2 separate regions of the Homo sapiens genome follow, and region 2 is linked to region 1. The links are contacts of gene promoters, found by promoter capture Hi-C in blood cells and fetal thymus (Javierre and others, 2016). All regions are on one chromosome and are shown on one strand. Each heading gives the region's core, a stretch centred on a gene start or on the middle of the fragment in contact. The rest is flanking DNA. Distances are from core to core; before and after follow the strand shown.

Region 1 (3,459 bases), core at 695-3,194:
AGTTTGTTTCAATAGCTATTGGGTAAAACTGGTTTCAGGTTACAACAGGCAGTTTCAGCAGACAGGGTTGCAGAGAATTACATTCTTTGAGCAATGAAATGTGCCCTCAGTGTTTCCCCTCCCACCATTTTCGGTGGGTATGAGAAGAATGGCCCAATCTGTATGCTTAACTTTCACAAGTGTAATCCAGAGTAAGTCATGAAATTGATTTTAGTAGTGCTGAAGTATAATTTTCTGAAGAGTAAAACCATGACTCTCTTACAAATATAAAAAAAAAGTATCAAATATTTTATTTATCTCATTAACTTATAAGGGAGCCAGTAAGATATTTAGGAATGTAGCATGAATTTGCTAAGAATCAGGAATGTTTAAATGAATTTGCTGAGAAGGGTAAAAATGGCTTAATATGCTACAGGTCAATAAAACAATGTTTTGGTGTATCTTTTCTACAGACGGGCAAGAATTATTTTAAGTACTACCAGTTTTCTGGTGAAATACTTTAGTCAATAGAAAGTCAGAGCTCCCTATGGATGCAAATCCGTCCAGCCTTACACTGAAAGGGCACACAGAATTCTCTTTTCCTCATTTCCAAGTCTTTGACAATGTTTGCTGACAATAGGTCCCTGTTAGCAGTTTTTGGTAATGAAGTAGAAAAGAAGAAATAAAAATTTAGTGCACTGCGGGTCGTAAGTGTAAACATAGTTTTGTGAAGATTTTGTTTCAGGCCAGGCACAGTGGCTCACACCTCCCAGCACTTTGGGAGGCCGAGGCGGGCGGATCACTCGAGCCCAGGAGTTGGAGACCAGCCTGGTCAACATGGCGAAATCTTGTCTCTACTAAAAATACAAAAAATTAGCCTGGCGGTGGTGGCACAGGCCTGTAGTCCCAGCTACTCAGGAGGCTGAGGTGGGAGGACTACCAGAGCCCAGGAAGTCGAGGCTGCAGTGAGCCGAGATGGCACCACTGCACTCCAGCCTGGGCGACAAAGCCAGGCCCTGTCTCATAAAAAGAGAAAGAAATACACTTTGGGAGGCCGAGTCGGGCGGATCACCTGAGGTGGGGAGTTTGAGACCAGCCTGACCAACATGGAGAAACTCAGTCTGTACTAAAAATACAAAATTAGCCGGGCATGGTGGCGCATGCCTGCAATCCCAGCTACTTGAGAGGCTGAGGCAGGAGAATCGCTTGAACCCAGGAGGCGGAGGTTGCGGTGAGCCGAGATCCGGCCATTGCATTCATTCTAGCCTGGGCAACAAGAGCGAAATTCCGTCTCAAAAAATAAAAAATAAAAATAAAAATAAAGAAATGAGATTTTATGTTAGATATATACTTCTATATATATACTCACAAGTATGTGGTATTGAGTTTGATGTAAAATATTTTTGTTCACCGTAGGCTGGGATCAAAACAGTTTGAAAGCCACTAATGTGACACATGAGGGTCAACAGTGAAAAAAACTGGACTTTTGAGTTCTTCCTTCCCCAAAATAAGTATCCCTTCAGTGCCAGGCTCAGTCATGCACTCAGAAAACGATTCGAGAGAACAGTAGAGAAGGACCGTGCCAGGTGTTCGGCTCGTCTCTGCTTAACTGAGATCCGCGGCCTTCTTGGGACACCACAAGAATCAGAGTGCAAGCGGAATGGAAAGGGCGAGCCAGCCGGCCCCAGCAGGCAGAAGCAGAGGCTTGCAGCTAAGCTGTTGATCCTTGGGGAAGCAAGCCCAAGCCCTGGGCCCCATCAGTGGGCACTGAGAGGCGCCAGCGGCCCAGTCTCCCGCGAGCGGAAGAACCTCGCGCACGCGCAGTGAAAACCCAGGGCCCGCGAAGCGTCCGAAGTCCCTTCCCACCGCCCGGCTTCGCCTCCAGTTCTCGGGGAACTGTACGGCCCAGTCACTCCCGCCTCGTCACCCCCGCCAGGTTTCCCCCGCCCTCTCCGGCCGGGGCTGGTCGCGACTGCGCGCGCAGGGCCTGAGCGGGCGCCGGAGGGAAGGGGAAGCGGCGGGTAAGGAGGGCCTGCGTTCGGGCGCGTCTGTGACGGGGTTGGGAACTTCCTCTTCTACTCCCTCCGGCTTTCCGGACCCCTGAGGACTGGAGTGAGAGAAGCCTCTAGAACTGTGTATTTCCTTGTCTTTCCTTCTGCCGCCGCAGGCCTTCCTCCGACAGTCTAAGTGTCGCCCTCCCCAGACCTTCTCGTCCGGACCGCTCCTGCCTCCCCCGCCCCAACTGGGGAATCCTGAGGCTGTGTCCCCAGTCCCTCTGTTGTCGCCTCGTTTGTCTGAGATCCCTTCCCTGACCTTTAGGTAGCGCAGGAACGATTATTAGCTTTTAGTGTAGCAGCAGTTTAGGGCTAGCTCTCTAGGCCGGGCCCCCAACTCAAGCACAAAGAACCACGGGTGTTTTGACACTTGTTCCGGGGATTCTTTCTGACACCCCTTTGCTGAAGCAGTTTCCACATGTTCCCAGCAGTGAATTCAAAGCCAGCAAACATAGGTCCGCTTTAGTTCCTCTGGGCATTTCTACCGTTTCCTAATAATCTGCTTTTTTTTTTGAGACAGTCTCGCCCCTTCTCCTAGGCTGGAATGCAGTGGTGCGATCACAACTCACTGCAGCCTCGACTTCTCAGGCTCTAGCGATCCTCTCACCTCAGCCTCCCAAGTAGCCGGAAGTACAGGCTTGCCCCATCACAGCCAGCTAATGTTAAAACAATTTTTTTTGCGGCGGGGGGCTCGCTGTATTGCCCAGGCTGGTCTTGAACTCTAGGACTCAAGCGATCCTCCCTGGCCGGGCGCGGTGGCTCACGCCTGTAATCCCAGCACTTTGGGAGGCCGAGGCGGGCGGATCACGAGGTCAGGAGATCGAGACCATCCTGGCTAACACGGTGAAACCCCGTCTCTACTAAAAATGCAAAAAATTAGCCGGGCGTGGTGGCGGGCGCCTGTAGTCCCAGCTGCTCGGGAGGCTGAGGCAGGAGAATGGCGTGAACCCGGGAGGCGGAGCTTGCAGTGAGCCGAGATCGTGCCACTGCACTCCAGCCTGGGCGACAGAGCGAGACTCCGTCTCAAAAAAAAAAAAACAAAAAACAAAAACAAAACAAAAAAAAAAAACAAAAAATCAAGCGATCCTCCCGACAGGACATCCCAAAGTGCTGGGGTTATAGGTGTGAGCCACCTTGCCCAGTCAACAATCTGCTTTTCAAGTTTGGGGCACGTGAGGCATGCAACGTCACAGAATTGTGCTCTTTTCCTTTGGAAATATGGTCACTCCACATGCCACCTTTTGGGATGACGTTCCTACTCCACTGACAGTGGGATGGTATCAGCAGTTACTGAGAAGCATGGTAACAGACTAGTATTTCTGTTGTCTGCCACCCGAATGGATATTCAGTCAACTCTTTCTTGTAGCAGGAGGCAGCATTTTAGCTCAGTGGCTGTGCTTGATGCCTTGAAGTAGGGGACAGAGGA
Region 2 (3,093 bases), core at 520-3,019, 120 kb before region 1:
AAATGATCCAATCTGTGGTATTTTTTTATAGCAGCACGAACAGACGAAGACACTCATAAAATGTGCTAAGGTAATATATCCTCTTTTTCTACTTTCTGAAACAATCTATATAAAACTGGAAATATTTGTTCTTTGAATCTACATGACAGTTCTGACTTCTTGAATAGTTTAAATGGGTAATATGGTAGACTACAGTTTTGGCTAACAATAATAAAATTTCCTAAAATGCATATATGCCCCTCTCTGCATTCCTTTAGAGGCACGGAAGCGCATCCGTGGAAATCCATCCCTTCCGACTTCCTTACACCTATACAAAAGCCTGCATTTGATGCCCAGGACTCCAGATCAGTACATTCTGTGACAACTAAGGCACAGTGGAACAAGAAGGGCCCAACCACATAAAGGTAGTCCAAGGAGCAATGATTTCTCAATCCTCCTTTTCCCAGGGAATATTCACAGCAAGTTGGGGAGAAAAGCTACACAATCAGGAAACTTGGCTGAGGCAAGAGTACTCCCATTTAGACAGATAACCATAAATTATTTTACTCATAACCTTCCAGCAACTAGGCTGGTAATACCTGGTAATACATTACAATATCAGGTGAAGCCCATTCCATTCAGCCTTCTCTGATCTACTCATTATCTCTTGACTCTTCATGTTCTTAATGATCTTCCTGATTAGCATTCTGAACACATTCAAGTCTATTCCAGCTTCAGATAAGGAAATAAATTCCCTTAATAACTACACATCCCTCTTCAAATACTGCCTTATCAATTTTATTTCCCTTCACAACCACACTTCTTGAATGAGTTATCTACATCCAATGTCTCTAATTTCTCACTTCCTACTCATTCTTCAACACTCTATAAATATCCCTAGACCTTACCAGCCCATTTAAACCATTCTTGGCACACTGCCAATGTAATGTATAACGCCAGGGTAATGAAGCTTCACTGCATTTTTAGTCCACCTATCTTTTTTGGCTCCACTGCTCAACAGCACCTGATAGTATCATTCACTCTTCTGTCCTGGAAGACTTTTCTTGCCATGAAGCCACATTCTCTTGTTTTTCCTCTTATCCCCGCAAACACACCATTTAAACATCTTTGCAGGCTCATCCTTCATCACCTTAGACCCTTAAATGGGGACTGTCCTTTTAGTTCTGCTTGTACACTCTCCTTTCTCTATATATTTTACAATCTCAAATTTGTATCTCTATCCCAGATCTTTTTGCTGACCTCTATAGTTGTACATACAACTACCTTGTCCTTAATATGTCTAAAACTCAGCTGATCTTTCTACTCAGTCTCGCTCCTTCTCTGTTCTCTATTTTGATGATGGTACCACCAAACCCAGGGTCATTCTTCATTTTTCACTTTCTCTCACTCTCTACATCCATTATTCATCAAGCTCGGCCAATTCTACTTCCAAAATATCTATCTTTAATCTGTCAATTCACTTCTACTTCCCCGGGCACAAGCCACCATCATCCTATAACATCCTCCTAATTGGTCTCCCTTTCATTCAGTTTTGTCCCCCTTGATTAATGTTATATCAATGTAAATATCATATATAGTACCTGTTTTCTGAGTGATAACTGTGGGTATAATGAAATAAATACTGAAGTCAAAAATAACTTTTTATTTTTTTGAGATGAAGTCTCGTTCTGTCACCCAGGCTGGAGTGCAGTGGCGCGATCTTGGCTCACTGCAACCTCCGTCTCCCAGGTTCAAGCGATTCTCCTGCCTCAGCCTCCCAAGTAGCTGGGATTACAGGCATGCGCCACCACGTCCGGCTAATTTTTGTATTTTTAGTAGAGACAGGGTTTCCCCATGTTGGTAAGGCTGGTCTCGAACTCCTGACCCCAGGTGATCCACCTACCTCGGTCGCCCAAAGTGCTGGGATTACAGGCGTGAGCCACCGTGCCCGGCCAAAAATAACTTTTTTAAATGTGTCCTTTCTCTCTTATAATTCTGCAATGGATAAAGTCTAAAATCCTTTCTGTAGTCTACAGGGCACTACTTGGCTCTGACTGCCTCCCTCCTCAGTATCATTTGCATAATTCTCCAGTCTTATTGGAGTTTTGGACTCAGACTTGCCATGCTTTCTTTCACCTTCAGGTCTTCACACTTACTGTTCTCCTGGTCTGGATTACTTTTCTTTATCTCTTTTTATACATTCCTGGACTTCAGCTTAAACTTCGTTTCCTCTGGCAAGTTTTTCTACAGTTTCCCCAGCCTCCTTCCATATATTATCCAAATATTCCTTTAATTCCTCAATCATACCTACTTCACTGGTTACTATAATTATTTGCTAAATTATCTGTTTTCTTTGACTGTTAGCTCCAGGAGAGTAGGAATTAGTCTTGCTCTCAAGGACATTCCTGGCACCCAGCAGAATACCTAGCCTAGTAGGCAACAAATGAATACTGGATGAATAAATCTATGAATCCATCAAGTAAGTAAATGGTTCATACTATTATTGTTATCATCATTATAAGGCAATTATAAGACAATAGGGTCCTGCCTACCAGTTTGGAGTTGCATTGATGAAAACTATCAATTGCAATAATTTCAGCAAGAAGCTTTACTAGGGGAAGAATATGCTCTATTATCACATATTATTTACTGACAGTCTCCTGGCTGGTAGTTACTCCATGGAGAGTCGGAATGCTTTAAGAAGAGAAAAATATTACCGAGGAAGAAAATCTATGTTAATATCATTTACTATCTAGTCTTAAAAGGAACATTATCTCCTGACCTCGTGATCCACTTGCCTCCGCCTCCCAAAGCGCTGGGATTATAGGCGTGAGCCACCATGCCTGGTCAAGAACACAAAATTTAAAGTTTGGAAAACTAGGCTTCTGTCGTGGCTCAAAAACATGTAACTGTGTGACCTGGGATTCCATCTACCTCAAAGGCTTAGATACAGCAGTTGTAAAAGTCAAATAAAGTAACGTACATGAAAATACTTTAGACCAGTCACAGTGGCTCACACCTGTAATCCCAGCACTTTGGGATGCCGAGGCGAGAGGATTGCTTGAGCTCAGGAGTTCGAGACCAGACTGGGCAACATGGTGAAACCCCATCTCT

The links. Contacts are between HindIII fragments. The CHiCAGO score rates a contact against its expected background, and 5 or more counts as called.
Region 2: a fragment that was not itself captured here is called in contact with the fragment with the promoter of IPP in region 1 in 1 of 17 cell types (M1 macrophages); the score reaches 5.1 in M1 macrophages.

What each region holds. Positions count from the first base shown.
Region 1 is chr1:45,749,138-45,752,596 of GRCh38, reverse strand. IPP (intracisternal A particle-promoted polypeptide) reads left to right here and starts at 1,944. Exons shown (of 9, transcript NM_005897.3): 1 at 1,944-2,000. It overlaps LOC105378693 (a long non-coding RNA gene), which reads right to left and starts at 1,648. Exons shown (of 3, transcript XR_947290.2): 1 at 1,349-1,648. RefSeq lists a silencer at 1,834-2,103. The HindIII fragment of the contact is 27,355 bases long and covers 1-3,459 here.
Region 2 is chr1:45,874,004-45,877,096 of GRCh38, reverse strand. The region is part of intron 3 of MAST2 (microtubule associated serine/threonine kinase 2); the gene reads right to left. LOC105378694 (a long non-coding RNA gene) reads left to right here. Exons shown (of 5, transcript XR_001738038.2): 3 at 258-404; 4 at 2,344-2,458. Among named protein-coding and RNA genes, the nearest start is that of MAST2, 72 kb to the right of the region's middle. The HindIII fragment of the contact is 1,636 bases long and covers 952-2,587 here.